2 separate regions of the Homo sapiens genome follow, and region 1 is linked to region 2. The links are contacts of gene promoters, found by promoter capture Hi-C in human tissues and cell types (Jung and others, 2019). All regions are on one chromosome and are shown on one strand. Each heading gives the region's core, a stretch centred on a gene start or on the middle of the fragment in contact. The rest is flanking DNA. Distances are from core to core; before and after follow the strand shown.

Region 1 (6,581 bases), core at 3,566-6,065, 250 kb after region 2:
GGAACCTAAATCCTACAAATGAGAATAATATTGGCCCAGGTAGCCAAGGACTCTTTAAAGTAAAAAGGCAGAGTGTGTTTTGTGGAATATTTTCTTGCAAGTTGATATTTTAAAGTTATCATAAAATAATGGTTAGATGATAGTGGTAACAATTGTATCTTGAGGGACAACAGATGTTGTATGGAGGATGTGCTATGGGGTTTATTTATTTATTTTAAAAGCAATGGATTTTATTAGTATTCTAAAACCAATGTAGCCACATGGCATCAAAAATCACTGCAAAAAAATTCACAGTAATGAAAATATACAATTAAAAATAAAAATGTACTGATGTCAGTCAAACTCACAGTAAAGATCTAAGAAGCCAAAATTTCCATTTGCCACCCTTACAATCAGGAATGTTTACTAAAATGTACAACTTATTGGGTACAGATTGTATATTCATGGCATTCATTCTGTAGATGGTCTTGTGTAGCAAATCTAGATTAGAATAAGAAAACCTATTTTTATATTATGTATATTTAATGGTGTCTAACTTCATTATGGTTTTATTTTTTGGAATAAGAGGTAGTCGATAGAGACAGCTGGCAAGATGGCCGAATAGGAAGAGCTCTGGTCTGCAGCTCCCAGCGAGAGCAATGCGGAAGGTGAGTGATTTCTGCATTTCCAACTGAGGTACCCGGTTCATCTCACTGGGACTGGTTAGACAGCGGGTGGGTGCAGCCCACGGAGGGTAAGCTGAAGCAGGGTGGGGCATCACCTCACCCAGGAAGTCCAAAGGGCCAGGGAACTTCCTCACCTACCCAAGGAAGCCATAGGGACTGTGCTATCCAGCCCAGAAATTATGCTTTTCCCATAGTTTTTGCAACACGCAGACCAGGAGATTCCCTTGTGTGCCAATGCTACCAGGGCCCTGGGTTTCAAGTGCAAAACTAGGTGGCTGTTTGGGGAGACACTGAGCTAGCTGCAGGAGTTTTTTTTTTTTCCCCCAGTGGGACCTGGAACCTCAGTGAGACAGAACCATTCACTCTCCTGGAGAAGGGGCTGATGCCAGAAAGCCAAGTGGTCTCGCTCAGCAGGTCCCACTCCCATGGAGCCCAGCAAGCTAAGAACCACTGGCTTGAAATTCTCACTGCCAGCACATCAGTCTGAGGTCGAACTGGGATGATCAACCTTGGTGGGAGAGGAATGTCCACCATTACTGAGGCTTGTGTAGGCAGTTTTCCCCTCACAGTGTTAAGGAAGCCATTGGGAAGTTCAAACTGTGTGGAACTTACTGCAGTGCTGCAAAGCAACTGTGGCCAGACTGCCTCTCTAGATTCCTCCTCACTGGGCAGGGCATCTCTGAGAGAAAGGCAGCAGCCCCAGTCAAGGGCTTATAGATAAAACTCCCATCACCTGGGACAGAGCACTTTGGGGAAGGGGTGGCTGTGGGTGCAGCTTCAGTGGACTTAAACATTCTTGCTTGCCAGCTCTGAAGAGAGCAGTGGATCTCTCAGCACAGTGCTTGAGCTCTGCTAAGGGATAGACTGCCTCCTTAAGTGGGTCACTAACACCTGTGCCTCCTGACTGGGAGACACTTCCCAGCAGGGGTCAACAGACACTTCATACAGGAGAGCTCTGGCTGGCATCAGGCAGGTGCTCCTCTAAAATGAAGCTTCCAGAGGAAGGAGCAGGCAGGAATCTTTGCTGTTCTGCAACCTCCGCTGGTGATACCCAAGCAAACAGGATCTGGAGTGGACCTCCAGCAAACTCCAGCAGACCTGCAGAAGAGGGACCTGACTGTTAGAAAGAAAACTTACAAACAGAGAGAAGTAACATCAACATCAACAAAAAGGATGCCCCCACAAAAACCCCATCCAAAGGCCATCAGCATCAAAGATCAAAGGTAGATAAATCCATAAAGATGAGGAAAAACCAGTGCAAAAATGCTGAAAATTCCAAAAAACCGAATGCGTCTTCTCCTCCAAATGATGACATTTCTCTCCAGGGAGGGCATTAAACTGGATGGAGAATGAGTTTGACAAATTGACAGAAGTAGGCTTTAGAAGGTGGGTAATAACAAACTCCCCTGAGCTAAAGAAGCATGTTCTAACCCAATGCAAGGAAGTTAAGAACCTTAATAGAAGGTTGCAGGAACTGCTAACTAGTTAACCAGTTTAGAGAAGAACATAAATGACCTGATGGAGCTGAAAAACACAGCACGAGAACTTTGTGAAGCATACACAAGTATCAATAGCTGAATCAATCAAGTGGAAAAAAGGATATGAGAGATTGAAGGTCAATTAAATGAAATAAAGTGTGAAGGAAAGACTAGAGAAAAAAGAATAAAAGGAACAAACCAAGCCTCCAAGAAATATGGGACTCTGTGAAAAGACCAAATCTATGATGGATTGGTGTACCTGAAAGTGACAGGGAGAATAAAAGCAAGTTGGAAATCACATGTCAGGACATTATACAGGAGAACTTCCCCAACCTAGCAAGACAGGCCAACATACAATTTCAGGATATACAGAGAACACCACTTAGATACTCCTTGAGAAGAGCAACACCAAGACACATGATTGTCAGAGTCTTCAAGATTGAAATGAAGGAAAAAAATGTTAAGGGCAGCCACAGAGGAAGGTCAGGTTACCTACAAAGGAAAGTCCATCAGACTAACAGTGGATCTCTCTGCAAAAACCCTACAATCCAGAAGAGAGTGAATGCCAATATTCAACATTCTTAAAATAAAAGAATTTTCAACCCAGAATTTCATATACAGCCAAACTAAGCTTCATAAGCAAAGGAGAAATAAAATTCTTTCCAGACAAGTAAATGCTGAGGGATTTTGTCACCAGCAGGCCTGCCTTACAAGAGCTCCTGAAGGAAGCACTAAATATGGGAAGGAAATACTGGTACCAACCACTGCAAAAACATACCAAAATATAAAGACCAATGATGCTATGTAGAAACTGCATCAACTAATGTGCAAACTAAGCAGCTAACATCATGATGACAGGATCAAATTAAACATAACAATGTTAACCTTAAATGTAAATGGGCTAAATGCCCCAATTAAAAGACACAGACTGGCAAATTGCATAGAGTCAAGACCCACTGGTGTGCTGTATTCAGGAGACCTATCTCATGTGCAAAGACACACATAGGTTCAAAATAAAGGGATAAAGAAATATTTACCAAGCAAAGAGAAAGAAAAAAAAGCAGGGATTGCAATCCTATTCTCTGATAAAACAGAGTTTAAGCCAACAGAAATCAAAGAAGACAAAGAAGGGCATTACATAATGATAAAGGAATCAATGCAACAAGAAGAGCTAACTATCCTAAATATATACACACACAACACAGGAGCACCCAGATTCATAAAGCAAGTTATTAGAGACCTACAAAGAGGCTTAGATTCCTACGCAATAATAGTAGGAGACTTTAACATCCCACTGTCAATATTAGATCAACTAGACAGAAAATCAACAAGGATATTCAGGACTTGAACTCAACTCTGGACCAAGTGGATCTCTAATAGACATCTACAGAACTCTCTACCCCAAATCAACAGAATATACATTCTTCTCAGCACCACATCGCACTTATTCTAAAATTGATCACATAATTGGAAGTAAAACACTCCTCAGCAAGTGCAAAAGAACAGAAATCATAACAAACAAGTCTCTCAGACCACAGTGCAATCAAATTAGAACTCAGGATTAAGAAACTCATTCAAAACCACTCAACTACGTGGAAACTGAACAACCTGCTCCTGAATGACTACTGGGTAAATAATGAAGTAAAGACAGAAATAAAGAAGTTATTTGAAACGAATGAGAACAAAGACAAAATGTATGAGAATCTCTGGGACACAGCAAAAGCAGTATTAAGAGGGATTTTACAGCACTAAGTGCCCACATCAGAAAGCGAGAAAGATCTAAAATCGATACCCTAACATCACAATTAAAATAACTAGAGAAGTAAGAGTGAACAAATTGAAGAAAAGCTAGGCAAAGACAAGAAATAACTAAGATGAGAGCAGAACAGAAGGAGACAGAGACACAAAACCACTCATAAAAATCAATGAATCCAGGAACCAGTTTACTGAAAAGATCAACAAAATAAATAGACTGCTAGCAAGACTAATAAAGAAGAAAAGAGAGAAGAATAAAATAGACACAATAAAAAATGATATAGGGGATATCACCGCTAACCCCACAGAAATACAAACTACCGTCAGAGAATACTATAAACACCTCACACAAATAAACTAAAAATCCAGAAGAAATGGATAAATTCCTGGACATATACACCCTCCCAAGACTAAACCAGGAAGAAGTTGAATCCCTGAATAGACCAATAACAAGTTCTGAAATTGAGGCAGTAAATAATAGCCTACCAACTCAAAAAGCCCAGGACCAGATGGATTCACACCTGAATTCTCCCAGAGGTGCAAAGAGGAGTTGGAACAATTCCTTCTGAAAATTCTTCAAATAATAGAAAAAGAGGGACTCCTCCCTAACATATTTTATGAGGCCAGCATTATCCTGATACCAAAACCTGGCAGAGACACAACCAGAAAAGAAAATTTCAGGCCAATATCCCTGATGAACATCAATGCAAAAATCCTCAGCACAATACTGGCAAACTGAATCCAGCAGCACATCAAAAGCTTATCCACCACGATTAAGTAGGCTTTATCCCTGGGATGCAAGGCTGGTCCAACATAGAAAAATCAATAAATATAATCCATCACGTAAACAGAATCAATGACAATAGCCACACGATTATCTCAATAGATGCAGAAAAGACCTTCAATCAAATTCAACACCCTTCATGGTAAACTACTCAATAAACTAGGTATAGATGGAACATATCTCAAAATAATAAGAGCTATTTATGACAAACCCATAGCCAATATCATACAGAATGGGCAAAAGCTGGAAGCGTTCCCTTTGAAAACTGGCACAAGACAAGAATGCCCTCTCTCACCACTCCTATTCAACATAGTATTGGAAGTTCTGGCCACGGTAACCAGGCAAGAGAAGGAAATGAAGGGTATTCAAATAGGAAGAGAAGAAGTCAAATTGTCTCTGCAGATGACATGATTGTATATTTAGAAAACCCCATCATCTCAGCCCCAAAACTCCTTAAGCTGATAAGCAACTTCAGCAAAGTCTCAGAATACAAAATCAATGTGCAAAAATCACAAGCATTCCTATTCATCAACAATAGACAAACAGAGAGCCAAATCATGAATGAACTCCCATTCACAATTGCTACAAAGAAAATAAAATACCTAAGAATACAACTTACAAGGGACGTGAAGGAGCTCTTCAAGGAGAACTACAAACCACTGCACAAGGAAATAAGAGAGGACACAAACAAATGGAAAAACATTCCATGCTCATGGATAGAAAGAATCAATATCATGAAAATGGCCATATTGCCCAAAGCAATTTATAGATTCAATGCTATTCCTCAAGCTAACATTGACTTTTTTTGCAGAACTAGAAAAAACTACTTTAAATTTCACATGGATTTTAAAAAAGCTTGTATAGCCAAGACAATGCTAAGCAAAAAGAACAAAGCTGGAGGCATCATACTGCCTGACTTCAAATATACTACAAGGCTAAAGTAATCAAAACTGCATGGTACTGGCACCAAATCAGATACATAGACCAATGGAGCGAACAGAAATAACACCACACATCTACTACCATCTCGTCTTTGACAAACCTGACACAAATGAGCAATGGGGAAAGGATATCCTATTTAATAAATGGTGCTGGGAAAACTGGCTAGCCATATGCAGAAAACTGAAACTGGACCCCTTCCTTACACCTTATACAAAAATTAACTCAAGATGGATAAAAGACTTAAATATAATACCTAAAACCATAAAACCCCTAGAAGACAACTTAGGCAATACCATTTGGGACATAGGCACAGGCAAAGACTTCAGGACTAAAACACCAAAAGCAATTGCAACAAAAGCCAAAATTGACAACTGGGATCTAATTAAACTAAAGAGCTTCTGCACAGCAAAAGAAACTATCATCAGAGTGAACAGGCAACCTACAGAATGGGATAAATTTTTGCCATCTATACATCTGACAAAGTTCTAATATCTGGAATCTACAAGGAACTAATCAAATTTACAAGAAAAAAATCCCATCAAAAAGTGGGCAAATGATGTGAACAGACACTTCTCAAAATAAGACATTTATGTGGCCAACAAACATATGAAAAAAAGCTCATCATCACTGGTCATCAGACAAATGCAAATCGAAACCACATCGAGATACCATCTCATGCCAGTTTGAAGAGGAGCTAGGTGTGGGTGTTTTCAGTGCCTTTCACAGGATACCTTTTTTTTTTTTTTTTTTTAACCTGGTGGATAGCCTAATGTGATCCTTAAAAAGTTAGGAAACAACAGATGCTGAAGAGGATGTGGAGAAATAGAAACAATTTTACACTGTTGGTGGGAGTGTAAATTAGTTCAACCATGTGGAAGACAGTGTGTTGATTCATCATGGATTTAGAAAAAGAAATACCATTGGACCCAGCAATCCAATTACTGGGTATATTATTCA
Region 2 (7,534 bases), core at 4,471-6,970:
GGGTTTGAAGCTTGGCGCTGAGCCTTCCTTGCTGTGTGACCATCAGTAACCAGTCGACCTTTCATTCCCCTGCTGCCCTCATCCCCAGCTGTGAGGATGATACCGTTCAGAGTGCCTGGCACTGAAACAGACACTCAGTTAAAAAGTTAAAGCCTTATTGTTATTATTATTATTATTATTATTTTGAGATGGACTCTCACTCTGTCACCCAGGCTGGAGTGTAGTGATGTGATTTCAGCTCACTGCAACCTCTGCCTTCTGGATTCAAGCGATCCTCCTGCCTCAGCCTCCCGAGTAGCTGGGATTATAGGCTCCTGCCACTACACTCAGCTAATTTTTGTATTTTTAGGAGAGACAGGGTTTCACCATGTTGGCAAGGCTGGTCTCGAACTCCTGACCTCAGGTGATCCACCTGCCTCGGCCTCCCAAAGTACTGGGATTATAGGCATGAGCCACAGCACCCGGCCCTGTTGTTATTCTCCACTCCTTCTCCTGATCCAGTGCCCAGCCTCTTCCCACCATGCCGCTTCCCCTCCAGACCCCAGGCACGACCCTACTCTGCCTCCCAGTTTGCTCATTTGCAATGGAGGAGTTGGACAAGCCTGGTGTCTGGGGAGATTTTACTAAGTCCGGAAGCCAACATCTCAAGGTGCTGAACAGAAAGAACCCAAGTCCCTGAGGCAAGGCTGAAGGCTCAACTTACATTATCTCACTTGGGGCTGGAAATGTCATCAACTCAGATTGCGAATACGGTGCCCATCACAAGGCTAGCTATAACTTTGGTGAATTAAAAAATGCTTTCAGAACAGGGGACTTGTGAGAAGAAGTAACTCAAGGAGTCCTTGGAGGTGAGGACCTCTCCTAGAGGGGTCCTTGGAGGTGAGGAAGCCGGCAGTCCCTTGCCTTGATGTCTGGAAATTCCTTCCAAATCTCCCATTTTAATAGTCGTATTGCTAACCACCATAATTAATGCCTCCTGGATGGCAGGCACTTAATATATATTCTTTCCCTTAATCACAGGACACCTCAGTGGACATCCCATGGGGGGCTCTATCTTTATATTATAGGTAAGGGCATTGAGGCTCAGGGTGCAAAGTAGATTTCTGATGGTCCCACAGCAGTGGTGGAGGTGGGATTCTGACCCGGACCTGTGGGCTCCAAGCCTGTGTTCTTTCCACCTCAGCAAAACCCCTCTGCCCCACTTACGCGGATGAGGGCTAAGGCCTCTCACCTGGGGCAGGTGGCAGGTAGAGAAGTCACCAGAGGTTCCAGAGAATTGGAACCTGATTCTTGCCACCGTCTAGATCTTCTGCCCCCTATGACGCAGTACAAGAACAGACCCATCAATGAATGACTGCCTTTCCTCTATATCAGAAGCAGAGGTCCTCACCCCCAGCCCTCTCTTGGACAGAGAAAGAGCTCAGGAGAAGATTCCTGGAGACGTGCTCTAGTCCCTTCTGTGTGACCTTGTCCAAGTCTCCTTAACTGTCGATGTGGGGCAGTCTTCTACCTGTCCAAGGTTCCTGTGGGATCAGTGAGATGGTGGCTGTGAAAGAATCTGGTTTCCCATGATTGTGGCAGATTCCCCTGGGGAGACCAGCCCTAGGCTGAGGATTAGGGTATGGGGTTCAGTGGTAGCTCTAGAATCCCTAAAGAAGGAGGGACTTAGGACAGCCAGCTGGTTGAAAAGGGGGCTTGAAGCTGCATTTGCAGGGCACGTCCTGTGAAGGCATCCATGGGGGCTGGGGCTCACATATGCAGTGAGTTTGTCAATGGGGATTGCAGTGGGCAGCAGGAAGACCCCCCGAGGCAGTCCTTGGCACTGCCTCTGCCTAGCTGCCAGCTCTTGTCTTGCTATGTGACCTTGGGTAAATGACCGTCCTGACCTGGTGGCCCTTCTGTGGAATGGGGTGAACTCCTAGGATGAGTGTTTGTGTGTGAGGGTATATGCATTGCTGAGCAAGGCTGGGAATGGTGGAGGTGGGTCCATAGCTTTGTGGGGACTCATCCTCAGAGGGTGTTTCACCTGGAGTTCAGGAAGATAGTGAGGAAGCAAGGAGGGGCTTCTCTCCAGGACTGTGGCCTCCTGATGAAGGCTGTTAGAAGGCTTTAATACTATCACTAATACTCCTTACACATAATAGCAGCAAAGAAAAATTACTCATATTATAGTAACTGGTATTTACTGGCTGCATACTATATACCAGACATGGCTCTAAGCATTATATACATAAACATTATAAACTCGATCTAATCTACCTGTTACAACTCCTTGTGAAGTAGGTCCTGCTATCCCCAGTTTGCAAAAGGCCTAACCTGAGGCTTCAAGACCTGAAGGACCTTACAGCTCATCAGCGATGCAACCAGGATTTGGATCCAGGCCGTCTGCCTCCGAGACCAACCTCTTGAACCCTACTCCTGCCCTTGAGGGGTTGCGGGGGTTTGCCAGCCTCCTTGCCCACCTCAGCTAGCTTACTCAAGCCCAACTTTGAATCAGTTAACGATGAGCAATCGGTCCTTCTTTCAGAATCTGGCCTCCTTTGTGTGCGCGGCAGTGTCTGTCGTATATCTGTGTGATGTGTGATAACAGTGCTGTGGGAAGAGGGTGGGTCTACTGGAGCTCTTTAAAGGGCAGGGTAAGGGCTGCGTCTGTCTCATTCAATGCTTTATCCCAGGGCTTGGCAGATAGTAGTTGCTCAATAAATACCTGTGGAATAAATGTACGTGTGTGTACTCAACTTCAGACCCTGGAGCCTGAGGGTGAACCTGTGGGGGTCAGGACCAGGTCCAGAGCATGGTCCAGAGGCCCCTCTTCTCCCTTGAGCTCCCACATCTCATCTGCCAGGTCCCTGCTTCCCTGAGTGAGGCCCTGCCTGGCTGGAGAGCATAGGAGAAAAACAGCCAAGAGCATCCTTGTCTGTAAAGTGGACCAAGGAAACCCTGCCTCACCCGGCTGCAGGGAAGCTAAGTGAGGTGCCAGGACAGACATGGACGTGCCAAAGCATTTGTCACTGGGGAGAGGAGAATGTTAGCCTGGGCTCAAAGGGTTAAGGGATGAGGTCAGAGCCTTTATTACAGCAGGCCAGACTGTTGACTCCCAGCGCCCAGGACCAATCCCTAGGGGCTGGGGATCTGGCTTGTGAGAGCAACTGGGAGTGGAGAGAACCACTGGGGGAGGCAGGGAAAGGGAAATGGGGAGAGGGATTCCTGAACACCAGGCTTTTCTGAACGTACCGCTGGCCAAAGAGTACAGAAGGGGAGGGAGGGAATGAGGGGATGCTGGGGAAGATATTTAGGAGGGAGGAGCGGAGCCATCTTGTGATTCTGGGCCTGGAAGCTGGTAGAGTCCTGGTTAGGAAGAGGGGATAACATTGGGGAGTGGGAGGTATGTGGAGGGGGCTGTGGGGTTGGGCACCTGAGGCCTCACATATGCAATGAGGAGGGCGCTCCTTCTGGCCAGGTCTACTCACTGATCCCTTCTGCTAGGGCCTGACCCCAGAAGCCAGCCCATACGAGGCAGCTCTCCCCTCGGGGTTAACTTTTCTTTGACAGCAGCTCTTGACCCATTAAGGTGCACAAAACTTCCACCCCTGATGTCTGGCTTTGAGAATGAGGGAGTAAACAGAATTTATCACATTTTTAAGGCTCAACAGTTGCCATTGGGAGGGCCAACTAGTCTTGTGGAGGGCAGCAGCCATCAGTTAAATGCTACATGAAACACACTGCTTAGCTGGAAGAGAAGCATCAGCCCTAGAATCACTGCCAAATTTGCTCACCCATGATGGATCTTAAGCAGTTGCCTGACTTTGGCCAGACCATGACAGAGCCTGGGCATGAGCAGCTGGACCCTAGACCTCACTCTGCCAGTGTGGCATCAGAGGTTCTGGGTCCCTCATCCTCCTCTCCGCAAGCCCCCTGCTCCTGGCTCCTTGCACTCTCCTCCTCATTTCCTTTCTTCTCTCTCCCTCCCTCCTCCATCCTTGTAGGCATCACCATGGCACCACAGCAGAGCAGAAACCCAGCGCAATTCACCCACCTCTCCCCGCCTGCTGGGAGCCCAAGCTTCTGCGTCTCAGAGCTTACTGCGCCCCCTGCTCTCCCACCCCATCTTCCTGCTCATGGAGGCGGCAGCGCAGTGTTGTGCTGAGGATGCGGAGAAGGGGTCCGAGCCCCAGCTGGATCCCTACATATCCCTTCTCCGACCATGAGCATGTCCCTTTCCCTTTCTCAGCCTCAGTCCCTCCATACAATAGAAAGCCTCCTTTCTAGGTCTGACATGACCTCTGGTTAGCCCCTTCTTGACACTTTGGACTCCCCATTACACTTCAGAATCCAGTTCTCAGAACTCCAACCGCCAGCTGTCAGCTGCGAGCCAAGACCCACATCTTCTGCAGCCCATTTCACTATCTCCTTCCCTTTCATATCTCAGCCGCGATAGCGACTGCAGCTTGCCTGGTGGCTGAGGTCAGAGGGCAGAGAACTCTCATCTGACAGCCCACTGAACAGCTGATTACCCTGAGAAAGGAGACTGTCTGGCTACTGGAGACTGCCTGACTCCTTCCAGCCAGTTGGGCAGGGGTCTTGGGTCAGTCTGGGTGGAGCTGCAGGTGTGTTTTGTGCAAAGATGTGAACCCCTCTCCATTGGCTCTGATAACCTCTAAGCTGCACATGTCTGGATGACCTAATGAGAGCTGACGACCCCCTCCCCAGCTGGCCTGCCCAGGAGCTGACAACTCTACAAGCATCAGAGTTCCTGGCCCCTAGCCCATCCCCATGTTGTGCAGTCTGCGGGCACTGGGGTGAGTACCTGGCGTGGGTGCCCATTGGTATCCATGCATTGCCTGGATATAGGACTGAGACCCACCCTGCGGGAGCCCAAGATACTAGAAACATAAGGAGGGTCCTCTGGGCCCCTGCGCACGTCAGGGCCACCTTCCCTGGCTAGTGTGGCCACCCACATGCCCATTTGTCCCCAAAGAGCCCTGGGGCTCTTTGCCTGGTCTCCTGCTGGCTTCTGGCCTGACACCCACCTTGGCTTCTAGCTTCTCTATCTGGCCAGCAGCCTGATTCAGTCCATCTTGGGGGAGCTGAGGTGGACGGGGGTGGTGGGTTTCAGGGTGCCCTGAGGGAGGACAGGAGGTTCTGGGACTGGCACCCCCATCAAGATGGGGGTCAACCTCCCACAGGATGCTGGTGGCAAGGGCTGCTTCCTGGCCCTTTGCCCTTCCCACTCTGCCCCTAGGGTGTTGGGGGTTCTGCTTGCTACCAGGCAGCCTAATCCCTTCTGGGCCTCAGGTCCAGTTTCCTGAGGGGGATCTCCATCTCCTCTGCCAGCAGAAGCCCAGAAAAACATCAGCTATATCCACTCAAAGCCAGGAGGCCGAGTGTTTGGAGCAGTCAGTGTTCAATGCTACAGAGCCCCCTTGCCCTCTAGACCCCTCCCTGGCCTCCTCCTATCTCTGTGAGTCCATCCCTATTTCCATCTCATCCTGATCCCTGCCCTCCCCCGCTCCCCAGGACCCTCCTACCCTCTACCTTAGTGCAGCCCCTCCCAAGCCCTCCCAAATGTACTCACCACGGGGCTGAAGAGGGGTCTGTAGGGTCCTCAGCCCCACTGCCTCCCTGGGGGCCTGCGGCGTCTCCAGGGACCCAAACACCTGGCTCCCAGGGGGAGCTGCGCCCTGTGCTGGCAGCGGGAGAGGCACAGCCAGTGATTGGCATGTCCCACCCCCTGGCACGCCAGCCTTAGCGGGGAGGGAGAAAGGGAAAGAGAGGGAGGGAGGAAAGGGAGAAAAGGAAGGGAGGGGAGCTGGAGGGAAGCCTCAGGCAGCGTCTGGGGTTGGACTAGGTTCTGGAGTGTGCCCCCCTCCTTCACCAGGGCACCCAATTTGAGCCCCAAGAGGGAGGAGAAAGGACATGAGGAAGGCGAGCCCAGGAAGGCTAAAAGTCCCGGACGGGAGAGAAGGCGGATACAGGGAGACAAACACCCACACCCACTGCACAGACCCGGCGGCACACACACCCTCACAAAGGCACACTGTTTCCTTGGGCTCCTCCCCCCACCCAACCTTAGAGCCCCCAGCCCCTGTGCACCATGCCCCAACACACATGCCCTGGTATTCACATGCCTGCTTCCCTCGCACACACGCCCTCCCCCCTGCACATGCCCACGCACCCACCCACCCAACTACACACCCTGCTCTTCCTCCCTGCTGTGAGAGAGCTAGATTCCTTCTGTTTGGAAATGACACATTGGGCCTCACGTGAGAGGCTCCAACTTGGAACAGACCCAGAGGGCTGGCGCACCCGCCCGGGGGCTGAGTGAACGTGCCCGCATGCTGGGCTGTGTGCGCTAGCATTGGGCTATGCATAGCCTGTTGTGAGGGTATATGGGTGTCTGCTTTTCGGGGATGAGTAGAGGGCCAGGTGCCTGCCCCATGTGCGGCTGAGTGCCTTGCATATGTGTGTCCCTGTGTACTCATGTCACCATGCAGCCTGTGTAAGTGCAGGTGTGACCCTATCAGTCTGGAGGCAGGACGCGTGTGCACACGTGTGTCTGTATCTGATGTGTGGCTGAGTGTTGCCCAACTGTGGAACTTGCTAATTCTGACAAGTGAGGCAGCCTCTACCTGCCTGCTCCACCCCAAGCTTCCACTTGGAAGACAGACAGGCAGACAGACAGCTCTCCTCCCAGCTTGTCAAGCTCTGTCTCCCCTGACTCCCACTCAGGGCTCACAGGTGTGTACCTGGGAGGAGATGAGCCCTCCTCCCAATCTCCCTCAGCCCTACTGGGTGAGGCCAGCATCCCTCCCTGCCAGGCTGGTCTGGACTTCTGTGTTGAGCTTCCTCAGAGATAGAACCCCTGGGGGGCCGTTTGCCCTAGAGATGTGGGTCCTGCACCGCCTCTGTTTGGCCCTAGAGACCTCCCCGGGAGCTGACTGGGGAGGAGAGTTGGAGGCTGCAGGGACTGCCTTCTGGGGCTGCTGTGTTCTTTGCCCACTGGGCTGTGTCGAAGTCTTGGGGTGAGAGGTGGGAAGGAATGGGAGCATCAATTATCCCCATTTTGTAGGTGAGAAATCTGAAGAGCAGAGGTATGATTAGCATGTGGTGGGCAGGTGTTTGGGCTCAGGTCACTTGGCTCTAAGCCCAGGGCTCTGGAGTCTGGGGCAGGGGTTTCCCCTACTCATTTCCCCACCAAGCGCCGCCCCCCGCCCCCACAACCCCGCCAATGCTGGTGCCTGAGGGTAACCTGGGGCTTTCTCACCCAGGAGCCCAGTTGGCCAATGGAGCCAAGTGGAGCTGAAACTGGAGTTCCTGGGGTTTGGTCAGCAGCTACTGGTGGGCACACGTGGCAGGTACATGTGGGGGCATCTGTGCTTCTCAAAGCCAGCTGGGGTTCCAGCAGGCACCCAGTCCTCCTCCCTGCTGAAGTCAAGCAGACGCTGCAGCTTGGAGAGAAATCTAAGTGAGCATCCCCTTTCCATCCCAGGGTCACCCAGCCGGTCAGGGTTGGGTCAGAACTTGACCAGTCCCT

Evidence for each region. Contacts are between HindIII fragments. The study calls those that stand out against the background at their distance.
Region 1: a fragment that was not itself captured here is called in contact with the fragment with the promoter of CHRM1 in region 2 in 2 of the 25 tissues and cell types used here (mesendoderm cells and thymus).

Annotation. Positions count from the first base shown.
Region 1 is chr11:63,166,298-63,172,878 of GRCh38, forward strand. All of the region lies in intron 9 of SLC22A25 (solute carrier family 22 member 25), which reads right to left. Among named protein-coding and RNA genes, the nearest start is that of SLC22A24, 25 kb to the left of the region's middle. The HindIII fragment of the contact is 5,201 bases long and covers 2,216-6,581 here.
Region 2 is chr11:62,915,643-62,923,176 of GRCh38, forward strand. CHRM1 (cholinergic receptor muscarinic 1) reads right to left here and starts at 5,721. Exons shown (of 2, transcript NM_000738.3): 1 at 5,576-5,721. LOC105369333 (a long non-coding RNA gene) reads left to right here and starts at 4,518. Exons shown (of 5, transcript XR_002957251.2): 1 at 4,518-4,799. It overlaps CHRM1-AS1 (CHRM1 antisense RNA 1), which reads left to right. Exons shown (of 3, transcript NR_199052.1): 3 at 2,284-2,719. RefSeq lists an enhancer at 6,045-6,579. The HindIII fragment of the contact is 6,896 bases long and covers 2,037-7,534 here.